4 separate regions of the Homo sapiens genome follow, and all the other regions are linked to region 3. The links are contacts of gene promoters, found by promoter capture Hi-C in blood cells and fetal thymus (Javierre and others, 2016). All regions are on one chromosome and are shown on one strand. The core of a region is centred on a gene start or on the middle of the fragment in contact, and the rest is flanking DNA. Distances in the headings are between cores, read along the strand shown. Region 1 has its middle 55 kb from the start of SHB. Region 2 overlaps SHB (SH2 domain containing adaptor protein B). Region 3 holds the start of ALDH1B1 (aldehyde dehydrogenase 1 family member B1). Region 4 has its middle 37 kb from the start of SHB.

Region 1 (7,399 bases), core at 1,347-3,846, 270 kb after region 3:
CTCCCATAGCTGCTGCAACCCACGCATTACCTGGAAAGCTGAAGCCCCAGGCTCCAGTGATGAAGCCTCAGGCCACGTCATCCTATGGGCCCCACAGAACCCAGAGCTGGCAACAGCTGCACTTGCCTTTGAAGGATTTCCCAGGGGCCCTGTGGAGGAAGGAGGCAGGCAGTTGTAGAGAGGGCTCTGTTATTGTAGTCTCCCTCGTCTCTGCTTCCCATCTCTCTCACGCACTGTCTGGTGGTCTCTTTCTGACTCTCTTTTGATCTCTTTGTTGGGCTTTGATCATTTTTCATCTCTATCTCTTTCTGGCCGTGTGTCTTTCTTTGTCCCTATCTCATTCTCTCTTTCTCTCCTCCTTCTCTCCTTTTTTTTCCTTTCTCCCCTCCCCCTCTCTCCCCTCCCTCATTCCCTCCATCAGTGATTTTGCTCTTGGAATTTCAAAGATAAGTGCCAATTTCAAGGTCATATTAATCCAGCTCTAGGGAAATCCCTATTCGTGAAGGAAAACATCCAGGAATTACAACAGTACTCATAAAACCCCACAGCCTGGTGAAGATGGACGGGCCCAGGCAATGAAAGCCCTGAGTTTCTTTCCCAGCGCTGCCCTGATTTGCTGGGTGGTCTTGGGAAGCCTTCTTGGGGCTTCAGCTTCTGCATCTATAAAACGAGTGGGCTGGAACACATTGATCTCAAGCGCCAGCTCCAGCTCTCTAGAACTGGAAGGATGCAGGTGCTCAGGCTCCGCAGCTCAGCCGGTGGGAATCCTATCTGTGGGCACCATCGACCACTGGCTTTTGTGGGCACTTGCTGGGGATTTTGCCAAAGGTCCCTGTGCCAGCAGGTGTCTGTGTGCTCAATGACTAGCATCTTGCACTAATCCTTGCTTCTTCCTGTTCCTTTGTTTAAATGTGGAACATACGTTGGGCTTGGCAGCAGATGAACCCAGCTGCCCTTCAAGAGGATCTATCTATGGTGGGTAGATTAAAGGAGGCCTCTCAAGTAGCCCAGCTGGGGAGGGAGACAAAAGCCAGAAGTCCATAAAGAAGCCATTCCCTTAGTCACCAAATGTATACTGAGCAGCACCGATGTGCTGACCACCTGGCCACATCAGACACTGCCCCCACCTTTATCATGAGATGAAGAAGAAAGAAAATGATCCTTCTCCGCAGAGTGAATAACATTCTGCAGGAATGTACAAGTAACAGCATTTTTATTTGAATGAAGAGATCAAGGGAAGCTTCCCAAGAAAGTAACAGCTGATCTGAGGCCCAGTGGGTGACATCACAGAATGTCACTGGACACAGAAGTGAGAGGAGGGCACACTCCATGCACAGGGATGGAATCAGCAAAGGAATCGGGGGCCCATCTCTTCAGGAGCAGATGAGTACAGCAGTTAGGTTGAGACCAGACTGTAGAGGGGTGTGGGATGTTTGAAAAGGAGGGTAAGGAGATAACCTTGATCCTGGGGCTTTAGAGAGCCACCGAAGTTTTTTCAGCAGGGGAGTGACAAGCTCAGATTTAAGCTTTAGAAAGATCCCATGGGTTGTTGTCAGTGTGGGGCTGAGATGGAATAGGAGAGACAGGAGGCAGAGACTGTCTGCAAGACCAAGAGAACACAGAGGCAGAAGCTATGCCAACTATCAGAACACATTTGTACATCAACGCACACACCCTAGGCTATAAGGTAGGGGAAGAAGCCAAGCGGAGTGAGTCAGAGATAGGAAATGAGGTCTGAGAAGGACTCGGCAAAAGAGAAACTCACCTTAGAAGACAAATCTGTCAAGGTAGGAAGAGAGCGAAAAGGGACTTCTCAGAAGCCCCATGAATGAGCCTCGTAATTGGAAGAGACCACAAGTGATAAATCGCCACACATCAGAGGAGGCAGGGGCCTTCAAGACTGAGAAATTCTTCATCTCCACTGTGCGGGTGGGGAAATCAAGGTCCAAAAACCATAAAGGACTTGCTGGATCCCCTGGCAAGCCTAGTCTACAATCAGGAGCTCCCACCTCCAAATTCTACAGTTCGCTCCCTCTCCCACATTTTGCCAGGTTAGTGTGTGGCCCCAACTTGCCAGGAAAAAGAATCAGAGCTGTAGAAAACACAGGAAGGTGCCTGGACTCCTAGCTCCTGTGAGAGCCAAATCTAAAGGCCAGAGATCAGAGGTAGGTGGGCCACGGTGGTATCAGGGGCTGTTCCGCCACTCAGAGTCCAGTGAGCACACAGCTAGGACAGGGGCCCTGATGGTGGAAAGAAAAGAGGGAGAAGGGGATATTTTGAAACAAAAGTTAGCAGGATCAGGTGACTGGGGCTCCAGGGTGAAAGAAAGCAAGAGCCTGGGCATGGACAAGCTCTGGCGATGTGGGACACACGTGGGATGATATTATCGTAAATGAACAAGGCCTGGTAGGAGGTGACCCCAAAGTGAGGGCACTAGCAGGATGAAGGGGGCAAAAGACAGAAGGATCTAGCCTGGAGTGAAATTATGAGCTTGGCTTGGACAGGCTGAGTTTGAAGTGATAGTGGGGCACCGATGGTGAATATCTTTGAGCCCTTACTCTATCACGTATCATGGGCACAGGGTATTTATGATATCTCCTTTAGCCTCCCAAGAGCTCCTTTGGAAGACATTATTCTTACCCCTACTGGACAGATGAGGAAACAAAGGAACAGAGCTATAAATAAATTTGTCCAAGGTTCCCAGCTTGCAAATTTCCAAGCCAGGCTGCAAACCCAGGTCGGTCTCACTGTGTTGCCTTCCATCACTAAGGAGCGAAAGAGAGGAGGTCATTGAAGAAGTCAAACCAGGTGAACACTGGAAAGTAGAGAGGAGAGAGAGAAAAGTGAGAGTACGGCAAACCCTGAGCAAGATGAAGAGTCCAGAGTGGAGTCACAGAGGGGCAGAGAGAGGTGGAGGGAGAATCAATAGAGTCTTTGTTACAGGAGCCGAAGTTGGAGAAAGTGTTCAAGCCAATGTCAAGGTGAGTCTTGAAGTCAATCCAAAGTGTCTTATGTGGTGAAGATGTAGTGATCACCATGAAACACAGAAGAACCTTGGGTAATGAGGAATCCCAGTGTTTCAGGGGCCCAGGCTGCCTGGAAGACTTAGAAGGGGCAGTTAGAGTGCAGAAGACAGTCTGGTTGGGGCAAGGTTAAAACAACCAATTCCGGCCAGGCGCAGTGGCTCACGCCTGTAATCTCAGCACTCTGGGGGGCCAAGGCAGGTGGATCACTTGAGGTCAGGAGTTCAAGACCAGCCTGGCCAATATGGTGAAACCCCATCTCTACTGAAAATACAAAAATTAGCCATGCACACCTAATGGGAGCTACTTGGGAGGCTGAGGCACGAGAATTGCTTGAACCCGGGAGGTGAAGGTTGCAGTGAGCCCAGATCATACCACTGCACTCCAGCCTGGGCGACAGAGCAAGACTCCATGTCGAAAAAAAAAAAAAAGAAAAAAGGAAAAAAAAGAAAGAAAAATCAATCCTGTGAGGACGTATCAGGAAACACACCCTGGAAAGAAAAACAGACAAACTGGACTTCAGCAAACTTAAAAATGTTTGTGCTTCAAAGGACACTATCAAGAAAGTTAAAAAGCCATGAAATGGGGGAAAAATGTTTTGCAAATCAGGTCTACAGTGGTTCATAATATTTAAGAAGCTTTAAAAACTAAACAATAAAAAACAAATACCCCAGTTACAAAGTGGACAAAGGATGTGAAGAAATAGACATTTCTCCAAAGAAGATATATAAATTGCCAATAAGCACATAAAAATTACTCAATGTTATTAGTCATTAGAAAACTGCAGGCTGGGTACAGTGGCTCATGTCTGCAATCCCAGCACTTTGGGAGGCCAAGGCAGGAGGATCTCTTGAGCTCAGGAGTTCAAGACCAGCCTGGGCAGCATAGTGAAACCCTGTCTTTACAAAAAAAATTTTTTAATTAGCCAGGCATGGTGGCACACACCTATAGTCCCAGTTACTTGGGAGGCCGAGGCAGGAGGATTGCTGGAGCCCAGGTGTTTGAGGCTGCAGTGAGCCATGATTGTGCCACTGCACTCCAGCCTGAGTGACAGAGCAAGACCTTGTCTCAAAAAAAAAAAAAAAAAAGCAAAAAAAAAGCAAATCAAAACCACAATGATATATTACTTCACACCCACTAGGATGGTTATAACCAGAAAACTATAACAAGTGTTGCTGAGGACACAGAAAAAGTGAAACTCTTATATAGGCAGATCCCCAAAAAGTTAACTACAGAGTTACCATATGACCCAGATTTTTTTTTTTTTTTTTTTTTTTTAAGACAGCATCTAGCCCTGTTGCCCAGGCTGGAGTGCAATGGCGCCATCTTGGCTCACTGCAACCTCTGCCTCCTGGGTTCAAATGATTCTCCTGCCTCAGCCTCCCAAGTAGCTGGGATTACAGGCACCTGCCACCACGCCCAGCTAATTTTTGTATTTTCAGTAGAGACAGGGTTTCACCATGTTGGCCAGCTGGTCTCCAACTCCTGACATAATCCGCCTGCCTTGGCCTCCCAAAGTGCTGAGATTACAGGTGTGAGCCACCATGCCTAGCCATGACCCAGACATTTTATTCCTAGGTATATACCCAAGAAAAGTGAAAACACATGCTGAAATAAAAACTTTTACACTAATGTTCACAGCAACATTATTAATAACAGCCAAGAAGTTGAAAGAATCTAAATGTATATCAACTGATGAATGGATACACAAAATGTGGTATATCCATACAATGCAATATTATTTGGCCATAAAAAGCAATGAAGCACTAACATATGCTACGACATAGATGAACCTTGAAAATATTATGCTACAGGAAAGAAGCCCGATAAAAAAGGCATCATATTATATAATTCCATTCACATGAAATGTCCAAAATAGGCAAGTCCATAAAGACAGAAATAAAATAGAGACAGCAACTAAATTAGTGGCCAGGCACAGTGGCTCATGCCTATAATCTCAGCACTTTGAGAGGCCAAGGCAGGCAGATCACTTGAGGTCAGGAGTTTGAGATCAGTCTGGCCAACCTGGCAAAACACCATCTCTACTAAAAATACAAAAATTAGCTGGGCGTGGTGGCAGGTGCCTGTAATCCCAGCTACTTGGGAGGCTGAGACAGGAGAATTGCTTCAACCTGGGAGGTAGAGGTTGCAGTGAGCCGAGATCATACCACCGTACTCCAGCCTGGGTGACAGAATGAGACTCTGTCTCAAAAAAAAAAGAAATTATTTGTTGCTAGGGGCTGGAGGGAGAGAGGAATGGGTAGTGACTGCTTAAAAGGTATGTCATTTCCTTTTGGGGCGATGGACATGTTCTGGAATTAAATAGTGGTGATAGTTGCACAACCCTGTGAGCATACTCAAAACCACTGAATTGTATACTTTATATGGCGAATTTTACGGCAGGTCAATTTTATCTCAAGAAAAGAGAGACAGAAAGCAGGTAGAAGTTTCCCAAGAAAATCTTGAGTGGTTGTTTAATCCCTCAGGGAACATCAGAGAACCCATTTAGGCTATCGAAAAGAAAAAAAACACATTTTATTCAACTGTTAAATTCTTTTGAACTTATTACTCTGAGGGCTAGCTTATGTTGCATTTTTTACTACCTTTTTATAAAGTTATACATTAATAATAGCTGGATTTATAGAGAAATGTCTGAAAGATTATCTGAAATGTAAACAGTGGCTGCCTCTGGGAGATAGTATCTTGTGTGATTTTAAATTTATTCTTTATGCTTTTGTGTATCATTTACATTTTCTTTATGCATATTTATCAACTTTATAATCAATAAAATTCATAAAGCTCTTTTTGTTTTTGAATATATATATATATATATATATATATAAAAAAATTGGATATGTTGAAAAAATGTTAATAGATAACTTTTAAAATTCTTTCAACTTACATGAAACCAATGTCATTTTGGTAGTTGCTCCCAAGGTGGAAAAACTGTCCAATTAGCCAAGTGATCACAATTCAGTTATTTTCTGAACACTGAACAAGGAGCTGTGTAAGATAGAAGGATGTTTAGGGCATGGTTCCTGCATTCAAGGGTCTTTTGATGTAGTAAAGGACCTCAGATGTGTAAATAAATAACTGAAAGCAAGGCAGAACATGAAAGTCTAGAACAGAGGCACCTGTAAGATGCCGCAGAATCCCTGAGGACACTGTGATTCTCCACTGAAGGATTCAAAATGGCAGGTCTGCTGCAGAGCTTGCCTTGAGGCTGAGTCAGATTTCATTGTGTGGATGGCAGGAGGGACAGGCAAGAGCCAAGGCCAAAGGGGAGGCATTTCCAAGCCCTCCCACCCTTCCTGTCCCTGTCCACCTCCACACTCCATGCCCTAACCTTCCGGAGCTGCTGATTCTCCTGGGCACAGGCCTGGTCTTACACCTTCACCTTGCTGCGCACGTGGAATGCACATTCCTCCTTCATCACCTAGCTCACTCCTTCTGTTCCCTCCAAGACTGGGGTCCCTGTCACTCTTTCAGGAGGCCTCCTTGACTGAAGAGGTTGAGTTCAAAGCCTCCCGCCCAGGTTCTGACAACACACTGAGTCGCCAACACTGGTGCACTCTACCCCCTGCACTTGAATGATCTGTTTGGGCATTTGTTTCCTCCATCAGATTGTGAGCTCCATTGAAGAAAGGCTGGAGCCTGGCACAGAAGGTTGGTGCCCAGTAAGTGCTTAACTAATGGCACATGCACTGTGGCTAGGATGTGCAGAGCAGGAACGTAGCCACAGCTCTGTCTGACCGATACACTCCCCTCCTCCCTCCTCCTTCTCCTCCCCCTCCCACCTTCTCCTCCTCCTCCTTCTTTCCTCCTCCTACTGTTCTTCTTCTTGATTTTTTTTTTTAGAGACACTGTATCACTCTATCAACCAGGATGGAGTGCAATGATGTGATAATAGCTCACTGCAACCTCCAACTCCTGGGCTTGAGTGACCCTCTTACCTCAACCTCCTGAGTAGCTAGGACTACAGGCGCATGCCACCACACCTGCCTGGTTTTTTGTTTGTTTGTTTGTTTGTTTTTGTTTTGGTAGAGAGAGGATCTCAGTATGTTGCCCAGGCTGATCTTGAACTCCTGGCCTCAAGCGATCTTCCCATCACAGCCTCCCAAAGTGCTGGGATTATAGATGGGAGCCACCGTGCCTACTCCTTCTCCTCCCTTCTTCTAAGAGTCTATTCCGCCGTCCTCCTGACCACAGAGTCAGGCCAGTGATGCTGGCTAGGTCAGTTACAACTCCCCAGCCCCCAGATTTAGTAACCGGTCCAGGGCTGCACTGACCCAATCCAGGCTAACCAGTGTCCCTCCTCTAGAGCAGCAGGGAGAAAACACTTTCCTTGATGAGGAGTTAGACTGATGAGGGCCACA
Region 2 (6,648 bases), core at 2,437-4,936, 340 kb after region 3:
CCCTTGCAAGTTGGCTGTGCTCTGAGCCGGTTCCTCAGAAAGGGACCAGCTTGCATTTTGAGCTGTAGTTCCACATTTATCTTTTGACTAACCTTTTACCCCTTATAACAAAATTAAGACAAGTTTGGTATAGAAAATAATAAGTAAGCAAAACTCAGAAACCAACCCTAATTCCGTAATTCAAAGAAACCACCATTAACATTTTACTACTTTTTCATCTAGCCATTTTTCATTGCATATATATATATGTTTATTTTTCTCGCCACAAAAATTAAGTGATACCGTCTATATTTTTTTAAACGTAAAGACATGGAAAGATGTCTACAATATCTTAAATATTTAACAACTGTAATTTAATAGCTGCATTGTATTCTGTTCACATGTTGGGCTTTTCCTCGTTTTCACCAATTTAACAGTGCCGTAATGAACATCTTTGTAACTTAATTCTTTGCATAGGTCTGTGATTATTTCCTTGGGGTTGATTCTGAGAATTGTTGGATAAGACAGTAAAAAGTCTGATACATACTTTCAAATTGTGTTCTAGAAAGACCTTACAAGTTGACACCTGTTTTACCCTTCTCACACAATCCTCGGAATTCTAATGCAAGTTAGTTGCATTTGCAGTTTCCTGGATTCCTGGTGCAAATGTGTGTTGACCATTTGTGTTGCTTTTCCAAAACTGTTTACTTTATCATCTGTTCATCCTTTTCTGCTGCAGGGTTTTGTCTGTTGATTTGTAAGAACTCTTTGTGGATTAACAATAGCAGCCCCTTACCTGCCATTTGGGTTGCAGAACATTTTTTAAAGTTTGTAATTTGCCTTTTGGTTCTATATGTGGCAATTGTTGTTGGTTACAATGAATTGTTTTCTATTTAATCAGTCTCCACCTTCATGATTTCTTGAGCATGCTGCTGAGAAAAGTCTTCCCATGTGGGCGCGGTGGCTCACGCCTATAATCCCAGTACTTTGGGAGACTGAGGCGGGTGGATCACATGAGCTCAGGATTCAAGACCAGCCTGGGCAGCATGGCAAAAACCTGTCTCTACTAAAAATACAGAAAATTACCTGTGTGTGGTGGCATCCCCCTGTAGTCCCAGCTACTTTAGAGGCTGAGGCACGAGAATTGCTTGAACCCAGGAGACAGAGGTTGCAGTGAACTGAGATTGCGCCAGTGTATTCCAGCCTGGAAGACAGAGCAAGACTCTGTCTCAAAAAAACAAAGTCTTCCCTACTGTAGTATTTATATTTTCTTCTAATACTTTGATGGATTTTTTTTTTACATTAAAATTTCCATCCCCCTAGAGTTTGATTTCATTGTATGAGGTATGGTTGTCATCTTATTTTCCAAATGGCTAGTGTGTGTCTGGGTACCCTGTATTGCTTGCTCATGATCTTCAGGTACCTTTTGAGACTTAAATATTTTGACTCCATCTTGCCCTGACAGTGTTTAGGTCTCATCAGTGATTATGATAATGATGATGAAGGCCTGTCTTTATAAAATGACAACTTTCTTCTGCAGATACCCATGCGCTTATTACACATTCAACTCCTGACATCTGAGGAAAGTAACTAGGTATTAACTAGGGCTTCATCTTTACCCACCACAGCAGAATGCCAAACCTGCTGTGGTGTGTGGGATGTGGCCAAGACAGCCTTGTCTTGCCTCTGGTGGAGTCGGCATCCTCCTCTGATACCGGAGGCTGGGCTGTCTAGGTGTATTTGAGGCAATCACGGTGGTCTGCCCTGCCCATGTGGCTTGAGCCAAGCGAGTGTTTCAGTTTTCACAGAGTGGGTGTAGCGTTCAGTCATCCAACCATATTCCAGCACTGGGCTGAGTCCTATGGAACAATCAGAGACAGTTAAGCCTGGGTGCTCTAGCTGAGAGCCCAGGAGTGGGTATTGGAGAGGGAGGAATTCATTGCCAGCATAGGCAGGCAGGTAAATGACTCCCTGAGCAGACAAGAGAAGCATTTGGGCGAGGTGGGTATGGCTGGTGGGAGAGTTCAGAATGGGTAGGATTTGAAGGTGTGGCCTGTGTGGGCCACACGATTTTGGTCACTCAAATTTTTTAACACCTGCAAAAAGTTCAGGTCACCAGGTTCTTCCTCTGCACCCCACCGTTTTCGGCCCACCATCAACCCAGGTGTCCCGTGTCTTCAATCAGTGAGAGATTTTTTTCCAGACCACTATAGCCTGTTTCTCTTTTTCTGGTTCATGCTGGTGTTAGGAAAATCCATCCTGCAGTGTTTGCTGTGAGGTTGATGACATAAACAAATTGGTATTAAAGGAAAAGATTAAGTCGTGGAGTGTTCATGGGGAATAAATCCAGGAAAAATGCAGATTTCTGAACACTGCCGAACATGACTGTGGTTCTAAGAGGCTGAAGGTGTCTGCCTAACTCACATCACGTCACTGAACCCAGGACCAGTCCTGGCAGCACAGTAAAATTACCTGCATAGCATTTTACAAATTTCAGTTTCCTAGGCTCCCATCCCAGATTAATTAATTTCTGGAGATACAGCCAGGGCATCAGTATTTTTTGAAGATCCCAGATGATTGTGATCTGCAGCCAAGGTAGAAAGCTGCTATCCTTGACCTTTGGTGTCCCAGAGAGCTGGGGATCACCCCATCCAACTCTCTTCCATCCATGCTGAAAACTTCCAATGTTGAGATTTGTTACCTTTTGTCCGGCCACCTTTGCACAGCTGGGGTTGACTTTTTTTTTATTTTAAATGTTTACTCTAGCTTTTTGAGCACCTGGTATTCACAGGAACTCGTTGGTTGAACTCTTTTTCTTTGTAGATTCTACTACTGTCTTGGTTTGACTCTCTGAGGTCAAGTAGAACCAGTCTAACCTTGCTTCTCTCATATAAGGACCCTCAGATGTGCGATTGTATCTTCAAAGGCAGAGAGAAGCTGCAGGCTATAACACTGCCCACAGAGCCAGATTCCCAGCCAGGACCCCAGCTGCTAAGGGCAAGGACCCTTTGATGTCACAACTGTGGAGGTCTTGATGGAGCCCAAGTCTAGGAGCTTCCTGTGGGCATGAAGTAATAGGCTAGAGCAGGTTCCCGGTGGGTGAGTTGAGGTTGGCACTGAGGTGTTAACTGTGCAGGCATGTGACTGGATGGGGAACAAGGTCAGATTCCCAGGTGGATTTGGGGAGTCTCAGCAAAGGAGCTGTCAGGAGTGGATTCCAGAGGAGTAGGTAGCAAGTGGAGCAGAGGTTGCGTGGCTGAAAGCAGTGTGATGTCAGGGTTGGGCATTCCCTGTCCTGCTTCTTGGCCCCTTGTGGGGGCTAGCTGACAAGGTCATACACCACAGGAGCCCAGGGCTGTTGCTCCAGACACAGCAGAACCCAAGTGTGTCCCACTGTGGTGGCATGAAACACTCACTGGCTTTAGGGTCGGAAGTCCAGAGCTCAAATCCTAGCCCTGGTGCTTGGAAGCTTAGTAACTTGGGACAAGTGATAAAATTCTCTGGGCCTGGAATGCCCCATCTTCTATGTAGGTAGAATAGTAACAGATGGTGTTTCCTGACCATTCACTCTGTGTCACCATAGGTAACACTTTCAGTACTTGATCCTTAACTGTGTGTCTTTGAGGTGTTGCTGTGAGAATCCCCATTTTACAGATGGTAAGGCATTTGGGAGATGAGGTTCTGGGGAAGTACATTGGGTCGTTGTGAGGATTAAATAAAATCATTTGTTGAAATGGCTGAGCACAATGCCTAGCATTTAGGAAGAGCTTTATGAATGTTTTATATTATTTTGGCCTGTGTGTCTTGGGCCTCAGTCCAGCTTTGAACTTTGGGCTTTCTATAGCCACAGTAAAGTCAGTGGGGTTGCCCTGTCTGGGCTGATGATGTGGTCCTCAGAGAGTGAACCTATCCTTATCTTGGTGGGTCTGCTTACGGTTAAGCTTTACCTGGGATCACCACTCTGTTCTAAGAGCTTGAGGTATGTTAGCTCACTGATTCCCACAACACCCCATAGGAGGCAAGTTCTATTAAGAGTCCCATTCTGGCTGGGTGTGGTGGCTCACACCTGTAATCCCAGCACTTTGGGAGACTGGGGTGGGCGGATCACGAGGTCAGGAGATGTAGACCATCCTGGCTAACATGGTGAAACCCCATCTCTACTGAAAATACAAAAAATTAGCTGGGCGTGGTGGCAAGCGCCTGTAGTCCCAGCTACTCAGGAGGCTGAGGCAGGAGAATTGCTTGAACCCGGGAGGTGGAGGTTGCAGTGAGCTGAGATCGCACCACTGTACTCCAGCCTCGGTAACAGAGAGTGACTCCATCTCAAAAAAAAAAAGAGTCTGATTTTGCAGATGGAGAAACTGAGGCAAACAAGTTTGTATCTTATCGTAGATGACACTGCTAGTAGTGGGTAGAGCTGGAGCTGGGGTTCCAGCCAGGCAGTCAGTCTATGTTACACAGATGCAAGGGACAGTGACGGGTCAGCTCTGTGTCAGCTGATGGCCATTTATCAGCTGAATAGGTCTCTACTGTCATAGAAACCACAGGTCTCTACTGTCGATAAAGTGTCTAGTTTGGGCCAGGTACTCCCCATAGGCACATTCTCAGGACAATGCTGCCAAAGGGGCATCAAGGAAAGCTTCATGGAGGAGGCAGCATGGGAGCTGGGCCTTCATGCATAAGGAGGATCTGGATATTTAGAGATTGGTGGATGTGAGGAGGACATCCCGGGAGAGGGGCCCTCTGAATGGTCCCTAGTAGATGATGGAGGAGAAGCCAGGTGTGGGAAGGCCTTCAGGGCCAGGCCACAGTTTGGTCTTTATTCTGTGGGTAAAGAAAGGTAGTGGAGGGAGTGAGTGAAAGGGTCAGCCTCATGCTTTAGGGACACCTGTATGTCTGTAGCCTGAGGGGATAGTTAGAAAGGAGTGGGGGTGGGGAGGCTCTAAGCTGGGCATGGAGGTGGGGACCCAGTTAGGAGGACATGGAATGCTTTAGGCAGAGGCACCAAGGGCCTCAAATACTGCAACTGACTGCTCAGGCAGCTCTCAGATGACACTGGGCAATCGAGAGAAATTGACCGAGCGCTTGTCAGGAGGATAGATTTTTCTGTCAATAGCCGAAACGTCCTCTGTGGGAGTTTGTGAGTTACTCAGTCCATCAGAGCATTTGTCCACATTCTGTCAGAGCCGGACGGAACATGTGCTGGGGTCACGGAGTCTGAGCCGGGAATGGCTCTGCTGGTTGGAGAGTTGGGCGGAGGAGGCCTTGTACAAGTCAGACTGCTTGTTTCTGCTGAAACATGGAGCAGGAAAGGACAGAGCTACCAAGCAGCCCATCCATGAGGAAAGACGTGGGGGACTAAGGAGATGGGGAGGGGGCTGTGTGTGTTCTGGGGGTGGACAGAGCTAGTCACCTGCCCTTGAGATGGAGCTCTCCCATCTGATGGCAGCACCTCGTGGAGTTAGAGACATTCCAGGATGTCCAGGCAAATGATGGCAGTTAGAAAGAAGCCATGTAAAGTTGCTGGTGTCGTAGTTGAAGTCTTCAGAAGACAGCAGTGCAAGAAGGGAAAGGGAAAACCAGGGCTCTGAGCCAACGCGGGATGCTGATCTTCAGAGGACGTCCTTGCAGGGAGAAGCTCTTCGAAAAACAGTAAGTGCTCAGCCTCCTTTAGGTCCCCAGAGGGAAAGAAATGTTAGCCACGATGAAGATGTTTGCTGGGCTCAGTCAAAGAGCCCCTTGAAGATCCCTGGACAATTCCTTACACATTCACCACTCCATCAGAGGGCCACTCTGACCGGCAGAGCTCGCTTTACAGGCTCAGAAGAAACGCTTTGTAAAGATCTAGGAATAATGTTGCCATCAGTCAGCTCCTGCTTGCCGGGCTTCTGTGGGGCTCTGGATCATCTGAAAGCCATCTGTGGTGTGACTGTGAAGTGACGAGATGGTGGGAGTTGGTGTCATCACTTCCTCATCACCCACAGGACAGCTGAGAACGCTGTCACAGCCTGGATGATATTCCCAGGCCTTGGGCCTGAAGGTTGTCAAAGTGCAGACACTCAACCCGGGCATGCTTTGAGGTCTCGCCTACTTGCCCTTTGTCCCTCTGCCTTGAATTTTTTTTTTTTTTTTTTTTTTTTAGACGGAGTCTCACTCTGTCACCAGGTTGGAGTGCAGTGTCGCGATCTTGGCTCACTGCAACCTCTGACTCCCTGGTTCAGGCGATTCTCCTGCCTCAGCCTCCCGAGTAGCTGAGATTACAGGCATGCGCCACCATGCCCAGCTAAATTTTTGTTATTTTTTAGTAGAGACAGGGTTTCACCATGTTGGCCAGGATGGTCGCGATCTCCTGACCTCGTGATCTGCCCGCCTCGCCTTCCAAAGTGCTGGGATTACAGGCATGAGCCACCCTGCCTGGCCTGCCTTGAATTTTGTGTGCAACTTCGACTCAGATTCTTTGTCACCTGCAAACTAGGGTAGAAGTGGGCCTGGTTTTGAAAAGGCAGAGAAACTTTTCTTTATCCAGGCAAACTGTTTTGAGGAATCCTTACAGATGATTAGACTTGAAGCCTCCAGTGGGAGCAAAAATTGTGACAATTCAGAGGATGCTAAATAAGCAGTTTGTAGTAAAAGATTGTAGTCAGTGGTTGAGGAGTGAAGGCACGTTCT
Region 3 (4,922 bases), core at 1,703-4,202:
GATTCCAGCATAAAGGACTGTCACCTCTAAAAACACAGACTGTAAGAGCTGTGAGGGCCCTGATGAACTCTCTGGGCCAACTCCATCACGTCCCGCCTATCCTCAGCTCACTCCCTCACCTCTGCTGGGTCTCAAAAGCCACTGTCTCAGCAAGGCCTTCCCTGACCACCCTTTAAAAAATTGCAACCCTTCCCACCCCAACACTCTCTATCCCCGCTACCCTGCTTTACTCCTTCTCTATCTCACATCCCAAATACTATCTTTACAGGCTTATATGTTTGTCTGTCTCCCCCCAGTAAAATGCAAGCTCCATGAGCACAGGAACTTATTTTTCTGTTCCATTCACTGCTACGTCCCCGAGCCTAGAGGTATGCCTGCTACAGAGCAGCGGCTCAACACACAGTACTGAATGATACACTGAGAAAACACTGAAATTGCCACAAAGGCTGTCTAAGAATTGACCTAAGACTTGAGTAGAAATCAAAGGGACTTGGAGATGGTTGTTCTCTGAGAGGGACTTGCTTCATTTCACCTCTGTGCCTCAGTTCCCCCATATGTGAAATGCCTCATGGGGTTATGTTGAATGATGTCTTGCATATAAAAACCCTGGCAAGCTCCACTCAGGACATCAGAACTGGCCGTGCCTCAGAAATTGACCTAGCCCAGCATCCCCCAACCACAGGTCTCAGCATCCCTTTTCAGCTTTCCCAGAGGTGCAGCAAGTCAGGAGGCAGCTGAGAAGAAAAGCTACAACTCTGAAGAGTGTAGACTTCGTTAAAACAACTACTGTTATAAAACTTAAACGGCATATAATACATATTAAATGAAAATTAAACAGAGTGTAGTGTTCCCAGATTAGTTGAAGCAGTTATTCTTCAGTCAGAATTTGAATCTCTCTGCCTTTGATGTCTCATGAGTCTTGCTCCGCCCAGCGGTAAAATGGAATTGCACCTGCCTGTCCCTTCACCCCCAGCCTCTCACCCTCCACCCCTGGGCAGGGAGAGGAACAAAAAACTCAATCAGGAAAGCAAGGCTCCATGTAGGTCCCCGGCCCCATAAAAATCAATGTGATGGGCGTGGTGGCTTACGCTGGTAACGCTTTGGTAGGCCGAAGTGGAAGGACTGCTTGAGGCCAGGAGTTTGAGACCAGCCTGAGCACATAGCAAGAACCGTGTCTCTACAAAAAAACAAAAATAAATTTGCCGAGCATAGTGGTGCATGCCTGTAGTTCTAGCTGCTTGGGAGGCTGAGGTGGGGGCAATCACCTGAGCCCAGGAGGTTGAGGCTGCAGTGAGCCATGATTGTGCCACTGCACTCCAGCCTGGGTAACAGAACAAGACTGTATCTAAAAAAAATAATAATAATCAATGCTGACCAAGAAAGTTTCCCTTCCCCTTGCGGGTGTTAGGAATAATGCTCAAAATCCTAAGGAAATTGAACACTCGAACACAGGATTCTTAGCAAAGCAATTTTACTTCTGCGCAGAGGGATGCCTCCTTGGCCAGTTGCCATGAGAGCACACCTGAACAAAGGGGCACGAGAGCCTTTATTCCTGATGCAAGTCCTGCCCCTGTACCCTTTCCCCATTGGCTGGGGTCAGGTCGTACAATCTAAACTAATCCCGGTTGGCTAAACATTTGATTTATTTTAGATAGAGTGGGCACGTAAAAGAAAGTGGAGAGAAAGGGGAAAGGGTGTCTGTAATGAGCTAGAAAGTTAGTCTTCTTTCCAAATAAGCAAAGGAATGTGAGCTGGTACTGATAACGCTTGGTACTGTGGCATGCCTGGGCATCTAACAAAGGCAAAAAGGAGAAAAATGAAAAAAAAAAAGGGGGGGATACTAAGAATTAAAGAATAAAAGATTGATCAGATTATTTGAAGAGAAACCTCATCATATCCCACAGGGGGAAGCTGAGTCAGCAGATCTGCCAGGGGTGCCCAGGGTTCCATTTAGCTCAGGACTTTGCCATATGCTGGGACACAGCCCCCTTGCCACCAACAGGCCTGGCTCTGAGGGTGAGGAGACCAAAAGGAGGTAGGGGAAAGGGGAGTCACCAACCCATGGGGTAAGGATTGGAGGGGTGAAGCAGTCAGGAGAGGTGGTCATAGGCCAAGGCTGGCAAACCTTTGCAGCCACACCAAGGCCGTTCCTACTCTTGGGGCCTATATGGGGTTCTTGCTGGGGCCTCCACTTGCTGATAGGAAGATCACAGCTCACAGAGCATCATGCTTTACAGTTTGCAGGCTGTCTTCTCACGGGAAATTTGCCAAGCCTCTCTGCAGTCCCTGGGTGGTCAGGGTTGATGATGACCCCCATTCTGGAAGAAGGCTGGGCATCAGAGAGGTTCAGGGACTCACCGAGGACACACAGCAAGAAAGTATAGGAGCCTCACCCCAGACTTCCACAAACCTAGCTTTGCATATCCTCCTGAATACAGGCAATTTTTTACAGTTCACCCACAGCGGGAAGGACCGGACCTTCTCTATCCGCGGGAACTGCAGCGGCGCCCACCTCACCCCTTCTGCGGGGGAAAGGGCGCAACCTTTGGGCTTGTCCAAGCCTCTGGGCTATGGTCAGGGGCCCTCTGTTGAAGTGGGCCGAGTGGGCAGGAGTGTTGAGGTCGAGCTAACGTGGTAAGGTCTGGGGGCGTCTGTGTCCTCGGGGCTCCTGTAGCGTCACCCAGAGGCGGGGGATGGGATTAGGGGACGTGGAGAGAGTCCTACAGTGCAACGGCGGAAAGGCCAGCCCCCAGATGCGGACGCCGCGGCCCAGAGAGGAAAGCCCCCACGCGGAGCCAGGAGCTGCGGCTTCCCGAGGGAGCCGAGGGGAGACCAGCGTTAGTTACCTGCAGCAGGCTCGGGCTCCGGTTCAGGATCACGCTTGGGTTCTGGTTCCGGCCCTCCCAGCTCTGTCCACATGGCCGCCCAGGGCTGGCCGCAGGTCCCGCCTCCGCGCAGCCCGGGGCTCAGCGGCCAATGAGGCTCCGCCTGCGCCTGGGGCGCTGCCTACGTCCTGTCGCCGGCCAAGGCCGCTCCTCCCTCGCCCCGCCCGGTCTTTCCCGGTCCCCGCCCCTCTACCCCCGGCAGCCCGCACCGCTTCAGCGCTCCCTCCCTCGGGTCTCCGCAAGCCCAGTGTCCACGTTGCTCAGATCTAGGCTCCTAAGGCACTGGTTTGGGAGCGGAAACAGAGATACCCAGAGAGGGGCAGGGGCTTCCCCAGGTCACACAGCAAAGTTTTCGGAGACCGAACCCCAACTACACTTTGCATTTCTCCCCGCTGCAAGACGCTGCTTAATCGACTGCCATCCTTGAGACTCCCCTTAACCCCTTCTCTGCCTCGCCTCTCCCTCACTTTTTTTGTCCAGGATTCACTAATTTCTGTCCTCCACTTTCACTGCTCCTTTCTTCAGTTCCTTCAAGAAGATTTTATATTTGGGCATTTTTCAAAGTACATTTTTGTCCTAAGGACAAAAAGAATGTATGCACAGTGTAGAAAGCTTGGAAAACACAGGAAAGGATGAAAAAAGAAGAAAAATATCACCTGTAATCTCTTCACCTACGGTAGCCATTATTACGGTGTTCGTCCTGCTAGTATTGTTTCCTCTGCATCTTTCAAAATTATTTTAATAAAAATAAAATCATATAGTAACCTCTGTTGTGCTGCTTTAAAAAAAATTTAAAAACTTAGCGCTGTATTTTGAAGTTTTCTCCTATCACTAATTACAGATGACATCATCCTCTCCAAGGTGGCATAGAATTCTGTTGTAGGGGTAAACTGTTGGACATTTAATTGTCTCCATTTTGTTGCTATAAAGGTTGCCAAGATGGACCACTGAACATGCATCTCACTCGCTCCACCCTCGCTGCACCTTCCTTCTGGCTAGGGAGGTCCCAAAGCTAACCGCCATGTTTCCCAGCCTCATTTGCAGTTAGAGTTCTGGATGTGGACTAGGTGCTGCCAATTAGTAGTACTCTGCCGGATGTGGAAGGCGGGCACGCATTGGAGGGTATTGTCCTGCCCCTGTAGGGTGGCACTAGCAGGATAGCAGAAATGGGAGATGTTCTGCGGCAGCATTCCTTGTCCCTTCTCCAGCTTTCTGGCTGTGGACCGGCCGCTGTGGCTGTAGCCGCTCCTTGACCTGGCTTCCTGCTCTTTGAATGGAGGCTGCAGGAGGGTGTCTGAAGTAGCCTCAGACAGGCACGAGGCTGGTGGGCCACGTCCATATTGTCCTGAGAGTTGGTCCTGGTCTGGCTAAGGCTTGCTTCTGCCTCCGGCACTTGCAGCAGGTCTGTAAGCACCCAGTTCCTTGTATTAAATCCCTGCCTCTCCACTGATCTAGGGTGCTCACATGCGACTGCTTGGACCTAATTCACTTAGTTCTTTCCTTAAGCTACATCTCTATGGAATCTTTTGCTACCATATCATCCTTAGCATGTTCACAGCCCTTGCTGCAAAAGTTAGCCATCCATGAAGGCACTATGATTGGCATCTTATCACCTTGATGCCCATGCTTTCCTCGGGTTTCTCCAGCAACGGCATGAGCCCCTTGCCAAGGCCCTCCTGCCTCCCCCACAGCACGTGGACAGCCTAGCTCCCCTTGGGCACTTGGCATAGCACTCCAGGACTGATTGACTTAATGATTAACTGACCAATCCTTAAGAGGCCTCATTGATAGAGGGAGTGAGTTTATGGCAAAATGAGTATCAGTCCTCGTGTTAGAGTGCATTGGAAACTGTGGCAGGTCTGAGAGGCCAGCTGCAGACAGGAAGTGACCCCCATGCGGCAAGGTTGGAGGCTGTGCCCCTTGAGGAGCAGCTGAAGGAACTGGGATGTTCACCCTTTAGAACTTGAAAGACAAGGCTGTGCCGTCCAAATCTCTGAAGGGCAAAACCAGATAGGATCTGTGGGGTCCTAGAAGGCA
Region 4 (7,091 bases), core at 232-2,731, 280 kb after region 3:
AGCCCAGGAGTTTGAGGCTGCAGTGCGCTATAATCATGCTGTTGCATTCCAACCTGGGTGACAGAGCAAAATCCTGTCTCAAAAAAAAGGGGGGGGTGGGGGTGGAGGGGGGAATGCCAAGATTAAGATCAAGACCTCTGCTTCTGAGTATAGCCAAGAGAAAGAGCTCAGCCAGGCCCTCAACATCAGTGCCAGCAACAGCCCCTCTTGCTCACCACATTTTACACACACTTGCTTTCTTGCTTGGTCTCTGGGTCATGGCAATCTCCTTCCAACCTCAGGGCCTTCACGCCTGTTCCCTTTGCATGGAAGCTTAGCCCCCTTCTAGCTGGGCATCTACTTATTCTCTGTCAAGTTTCAGCTCCATAATGGGCTGGTTAGGTCCCTCCCCATAGCTCTATTCTCTTCCTTGTACCATTACCACAATTGTCATTCTGCATTTGTGTGAACATTTGTTTTACGCCCACCTCTCCTGCTTCACTGTAATCTCCAGAAAACCAGGTCTGTCTTGTTTATGGCCGGTACCCGGCACCAGCCGCAGAGCTTGGCATAACCGTGGGCTGAATAAATGAGGTGAGATCAATTACATGGAAAGGACCTAATGCTTAGTAGGTATTTTTCCACCATTTTTCCCCTTCCTCAGATCTCAGAGCTGATCCACCTCCCTGTGTTCAAGCTGATGATCTGATTGTGGCATCAGACTTTTAGAGCTGACCGAAGCCAAGAGAGGCTACGTGGCAGCACTTAGCTCAGCCTGCTTTGCTGGGGCTGTTTATGGAGGGAAAGCACAGGATTCATTTGGCTCTAATCAGGTTAGGATCAGAGCACAGGGACTAGGAAAGGAATGCTGGGCGTAAGATCCAGACCATGTGACTGGGGTGACCTGGGCACAGTCATGGGGAGGCCACACTAGCAGAGTCAGGTTTTCACACTGTAGCCCAGCTGGGGTACACAGCTTGTTTGCAGTAGAGTAGGGCCCAAAGCCCAGGCTCCTGACTCCTGGCACAGTGCTCCAAAGAGCCAACACATGGTGTTGGAAACAATCCCAGGCTGGGCTCTGTTTTCCCACTGCCCAAATCTCTTCCAGGGAGCAGGTCTTGGTATGGCAGAAGGGAGTGGATAAAGCCTTTTCTACAACTCTTTATCACCAGGGCAGGAGATCCAGAGCTGCTGCTACCTTGGGTCCAGCTCAGTGCAATGACAATATTCCTTACATCTTTACACTGCTTTGTTATCTCCAAAGCATTGTCACTTTTGTTTTTCAGCCTCACAGTAATCCTGTGAGGATAGGCAAGCAGCTGATTAACCTCTTATCACGCATGAGAAAACAGAGGCCCAGAGGGGCGTGTCAACTTGCCCAGACCTTCATAGCTGGTCAGTGGAAGAGCCAAGCCCGGAAGCCAGGCCTCCTGACTCCCAGTCCAGAGTTGGTTCAGTATTTTTCACACACAACTGTGACACTCAAATCCGTGTGGTTTCTTGTAGCACTTTCTAGTCTGTGGCATCTCAGCACTGTTGAGGATTAGACGAACAGCCAGGGGAGGAGATGATGGGGTGATGGCTGTGCTGGCATGGCCTCCCCATGGCTTTGGCTGTGGCTGGGCCCCAGTTTCCGCCACCCTAGTCATGTGGTCCGGATCTCGGGGTTCAATGTTTGTGTCCTAGCCTCTCTGCTCTGATCCTGACTCTGATGAAAGGCAAAACAGATCCTGTGCTCTTCCTCCATAAATAGCCCCAGCAAAGCAGGTAAGACAGCCATGAGAAAGCCTAGGGAGTGTTTTTGACGCAGTTGGAACCAGGGGTTACTGGTACTGAAGAGGAAATGCACTTTCTGGTTAAGAAGACTTTGGACTGTGAAACAAAGACAGAGAAAGAGAGTTCAGAACCACTTAAGAGTCTGATACAGGGCTCATTAAGAACGAAGAATGATACTGGGAAAAGCCCAGCTTGGGGGTTGAGTTCTGACCTCCAGTCTGGTTTTCATGCTGTAACCTTAAGGAAGTCATTATGCGTCTTTGGGCCCTTTTTTTTTTTTTTCTTCTCCTTTTGAGACAAAGTCTCACTCTGTCACCCAGGATAGAGTGCAGTGGCACAATCTTGGCTCACTGCAACCTCCACCTTCCGGGTTCAAGTGATTCTCCCGCTCAGCCTTCTGAGTAGCTGAGATTATAGGCATGCACCACCATGCCTGGCTAATTTTTGTATTTTTAGTAGAGATGGGGTTTCTCCATGTTGACCAGGCTGGTCTTGAACTCCTGACCTCAAGTGATCCACCTGCCTCGGCCTCCCAAAGTGCTGGGATTACAGGTGTGAGCCACTGCACCCGGCCAAAACTGTGAGGGAGGCAGGGAGCCCATCACCCTCCTGGTGGTGGCCGGTCCCCTGCCCCGTCTTTGGGCTTTAATTTCCTTCTTTGTAAAATCGCAAGGGGAAAGGAAGGAATCAAGATATCAAGTGTCCGATTTTCCCACTTTGTCCTGACTGACCTGCACATTCTGTGACAGTGTCCATACATACATTACATGAATGATCACTTGGTAAAAAAATCCAAAGAAAGTAAGTCTTTGTTATATGGGACACCCTAAAATATAGTGTTTACGAGCTCCTTCTCTCTCAGGAGCCAGCCTCCCTGGGTTCAAATCCAAGCTTGCCACTTATTAGCTATGTGACCTTGGGCAAGTTACTAAACCCCTCTGTGTTTCAGTTTCCTCATACTCAATACAAGAATAATATTTGTACCATTGCATAGGGCTGTTATGGATCAAAGAACTTAAGAGAACTATAAGGCACTTAGGATAGAGCCTGACATATGGTAAACACTCATTAAATGTGACTCATCGTTACCTAGCAAAAGCTGATACTCTCCATTCCACTTAAACGAAATTGAATGATAACTGAAGATTTCCCTTGGCTAAAATATTTAAAACTATAATTATTTCAGATATAAACTAAGAAGTATAATCATTTTGAAGGTAAATCTTTCTAAAACACACCATAAAATGTCTTTTGTTTTGTTTTTTGAGACAGAGTCTGGCTCTGTTGCCCAAGCTAGAGTGCAGTGGTGCAATCTCAGCTCACTGCAACCTCTGCCTCCCGGGTTCAAGCGATCCTCCTACCTCAGCCTCCCAAGTAGCTGGGACTACAGATGCATGGCTGGCTAATTTTTGTATTTGTTATTAGAGACGGGGTTTTGCCATGTTGGCCAGGCTCGTCTGGAGCTCCTGACCTCAGGTGATCCGCCCACCTCAGCCTCCCAAAGTGCTGGGATTACAGGCATGAGCCACCAGGCTCAGCCTAAACAGTATCTATAAATTATTATTCTTTTCCTCCTCCCCTGACTTAGGCTCAACAAGAATGGGAGCCCCCTGAAGGCAGAGGTCTCTATCTCTACCTTTCCAGTTGGCAGGAGTACCTGGCACAAAATGAGTACCAATACGCTTTTGCTTAGGAAATGAAGGGAGGACAGTCACAGGCATTAGGCTCTAGGATGCTTTATGGAGATGACACTCTTGGAGGTTGATAGGGGATATTGAGCTAAAGGACCCAGACAAGGGTCCTTTAGTGCCTGAGTTTTAAAGTTTTCTCACCTCTGTCTTTCCAACTACCATTATGACCACAGTTGTCCTCTTAAATCCTGCCTTTGAAATCCTGGGCCTGCTTAGAGCAAGGTCTCCCCTTGGGGACCGCCACAACCGACTGCCATGGTGCAGGCAAACAGAGGCCAGATCATCAGAACAGCTGCCCTTGGTGACTGCTTATTCCTTCACACACACTATGGCATCTACCGTTCACACACAAATGTGTGCGATTGAAATCATTATATTCCCATTTTACAGATTAAAACAAAACAAGGCTTAATGTGGTTAAGTGACTTCTATGCCACCAGTAAGTGGAAAAGCTGAATACTAAAATCACAGTTGGCCTGGCACAGGGGCTCATGCCTGTAATCCCAGCACTTTGGGAGGCTGAGGCAGGCAGATCGCTTGAGCTCAGAACTTCAAGACCAGACTGGGCAACATGGCGAAATGCTGTCTCCACAAAAAATACAAAAATTAGCAGGGCATGGTGGCGCACACCTGTAGTCTCAGTCACTTGGGAGACTGAATGGGAAGATCCCTTGAGCCCAGGAGGTCGAGGCTGCAGTGAGTCATGATCCCGCCACTGCACTCCTGGGTGACAGGGGAGACCCTGTCTCAAAATAAAATAAAATAAAATAAAATCACAGCTTGAATAGCTTGTTCAAAACCTGGCCACCAATTGAAGTGGCCAGGTGTGAGGACAAAAGGCTGGGCAGTGGTGGGGTGGATAGGAATCAGGAAAATGGAAGATGAGGAGTACAGGGCAGGCCATTTGAAGGTGACCTAGAACAATTTCACAGACGGCATAGGCACCAACAGCAGCTTTGTATGGGATAACCAATAGGGGGATGAGTCAAGATCACTTAAAGGGTGGAATGAGGAGCCTGCCTCCAGAAGCTTCCATCTCCTTTTGGATTCACCATGGCCTAGTAATCTGGCAGCCAAATGTGTTAGAACTATATGTAAACAAAGAGTAAAAAGGCTAGGCAGGGCTGGGTATGGTGGCTCACACCTGTAATCCCAGCACTTTGGGAGGCTGAGGCAGGTGGATTACCTGAGGTCAGGAGTTCAAGACCAGCCTGGCCAACATGGTGAAACTCTGTCCTTATTAAAAATACAAAAATTAGCTGGGCGTGGTGGCAGGCACCTGTAATCCCAGCTACTCCAGAGGCTGAGGCAGGAGAATTGCTTGAACTCAGGAGGCAGAGGTTGTGGTGAGCTGAGATCGCACCAGTGCATTCCAGCCTGGGCGACAAGAGTGAGACTCCATCAACAAATAAAAATAAAAATAAAGGCTAGACAGAATCTATTTTTTAAGTGCCCATACTCTGACACCACTTTGAAAGGCTCAAAGAACTTCCTAGTTTAGTTCTTGGTCTTCAGATTTGTTTTGTTAGGAAAGCTCTCATAAGTAGATGGTTGTTTTTATTTTTTAAAATGCATTATGGCGATACATAATTATCTCTTGCTTTGATGAAGGCAATTCAGGCCCTCTAGTGCCCGCTGTGCCCAGGATCTTAAAGATAAAGAGTAGCAGATCATAGGATTGTAGTGAATACATGTATGACAGTCCGTGAAGGGCTGTCAGGGAGGGGAGGGAATGGACCTGTTCTCTGTGTCTAAGAGGGCAGAGCCAGAACCAGCTCTGCTACAGAACCAGAAGAAAGCTACAGGAAGAAGTTGTTTTTTTTCTTAGTAAAGAACTTCTCAAAAATCAAGTTGTTTAAGACCAACGGGGTTGTCTTCAACAGAAATGATCTCCCTGTCAAAAGAGGCAGGCAAGCAAGCAAGCAGAGGTCGGATGAGCACTTGGCAGGGAGGCGTAACAGGGGGCTGGGGCTCAGGGTTGGCCCCACTGACCTCTGATCTAAGTCCCCTCCCATCCCAAAGGGGACTTGTCTGCCTGCAAGTGAGGGCCCTCCTTACAGTAGGAATCTGTGTCTGGTGGATTTGCCAAGCATATTCCAGTCCATGAGACCTTTATTAGTGCTCCTGCTTTGGGATGGGTCATTTCATTTCTTCAAAATTAAGATATAATTCACACACCAAAATATTCACCTTTTAAGTATACAATTCAGTGGGGTTTAGTATATTCACAAAGCTGAGCAACCATCACAACTATCTCATCCTAGAACATTTTCATCACCCCAAAGGAAACCCACACCCATTAGCTCTTACTCATTTTTCTCTCCCTCCAGCACCGGTAACCACTAACCTGTTTTCTATCTCTATGCATTTGCTAACTAAGACTGTTTCATATTAATGGAATCATACAATGAGTGACTTTTTGGGTCTGACTTCATTTACAATGTTTTTAAGGCTCATCTACATTGTAGTATGTATCAGCACTTTATTCCTTTTCTTGGCTGAATAATACTCCAGTGTGTGTATACTCCATTTTCTTTATCCACTTATCTATTGATTGACATTTTATTTTGACTTGGCTATCATGAATAATGCTATCAACATTTGTGTAGAAGTTTTTGTTTAAACATGTTTTTAATTATCTCGGGTGTATACCTAGGAGGGGAATTGCTAAGACATAACTCTATGTTTAACTTTTTGAGGAACCACCACTGTTTTCCAAGGTGGCTGCACCACTTTACATTCCTACCAGAAATGTATGAGGGGTTCCAATTTGCCAACACTTGTTATTGTCCATATTTTTATTATAACCATCCTATAGGATATGAAGTGTTATCATTATGGTTTTAAATTTGCCATTTCCCTGATGGCTAATGATGTTGAGCACCTTTTCATATGTTTATTGATCATCTGTACATCTTCTTTGGAAAAATATCTATTCAAATCCTTTGCCAATATTTTTTGCAATTATTTAATTTTTGTGGGGATTTGGGGTTTGTTTAAGACAGGGTCTCACTCTGTTGCCCAGACTGGAGCACAATGGCCCCATCATAGCTCACTGCAGCCTTGACCTTCCAGGCTCAGGATCCTCCCACTTCAGCCTCCCAAGTAGCTGGGACCACAGGTGAGCACCACCAAGCCCACCTAATTATTTTTATTATAACTCGTAGAGATGGGGTCTCCCTATGCTGTCCAGGCTGATCTTGAACTCCTAGGCTCTAGTATCCTCTCACCTCAGCCTCCCAAAGTGCTAGGATTACAGGCATGAGCCACTGAGCCCAGCTTTTCATTTTCTTGATAGTGTCCTTTGAAGCAAAAAGTTTTTAATTTTGATGAAGTCCAATTTATCTATTTTTTTCTTTGGTTTGCTTGTGCTTTTGGGGTTGTATCTAAGAAAGCACTAAGAAAGTCCAAGGCCACAAGATTTACACCTATGTTTTTTTCTAAGAGTCTCATAGTTTCATCTCTTGCCTTTGATGCATTTTGACTTAATTTTTGTATGTAGTGCAGGGAGAAGTCCAATATATGAAATCAACCTAAATGTTCATCAACAGATGAATAGGTAAATAAAATGTGGTATATATACACAATGAGATACTATTCAGACTTTAAAAAGAAGAGAATTCTGTCATTTGTGACAACATAGAT

What was found. Contacts are between HindIII fragments. The CHiCAGO score rates a contact against its expected background, and 5 or more counts as called.
Region 1: a fragment that was not itself captured here is called in contact with the fragment with the promoter of ALDH1B1 in region 3 in 1 of 17 cell types (naive CD4 T cells); the score reaches 6.1 in naive CD4 T cells.
Region 2: a fragment that was not itself captured here is called in contact with the fragment with the promoter of ALDH1B1 in region 3 in 4 of 17 cell types (non-activated CD4 T cells, naive CD4 T cells, naive B cells and 1 more); the score reaches 7.2 in non-activated CD4 T cells.
Region 4: a fragment that was not itself captured here is called in contact with the fragment with the promoter of ALDH1B1 in region 3 in 4 of 17 cell types (total CD8 T cells, naive CD4 T cells, megakaryocytes and 1 more); the score reaches 6.3 in total CD8 T cells.

Annotation. Positions count from the first base shown.
Region 1 is chr9:38,120,375-38,127,773 of GRCh38, reverse strand. No RefSeq gene overlaps it. Among named protein-coding and RNA genes, the nearest start is that of SHB, 55 kb to the right of the region's middle. The HindIII fragment of the contact is 2,135 bases long and covers 1,529-3,663 here.
Region 2 is chr9:38,050,912-38,057,559 of GRCh38, reverse strand. All of the region lies in intron 1 of SHB (SH2 domain containing adaptor protein B), which reads left to right. Among named protein-coding and RNA genes, the nearest start is that of SHB, 15 kb to the left of the region's middle. The HindIII fragment of the contact is 472 bases long and covers 3,451-3,922 here.
Region 3 is chr9:38,390,732-38,395,653 of GRCh38, reverse strand. ALDH1B1 (aldehyde dehydrogenase 1 family member B1) reads right to left here and starts at 2,952. Exons shown (of 2, transcript NM_000692.5): 1 at 2,847-2,952. RefSeq lists enhancers at 2,476-2,565, 2,606-2,655 and a silencer at 2,866-3,185. The HindIII fragment of the contact is 5,526 bases long and covers 1-3,499 here.
Region 4 is chr9:38,102,390-38,109,480 of GRCh38, reverse strand. No RefSeq gene overlaps it. Among named protein-coding and RNA genes, the nearest start is that of SHB, 37 kb to the right of the region's middle. RefSeq lists an enhancer at 1,491-1,670. The HindIII fragment of the contact is 2,334 bases long and covers 315-2,648 here.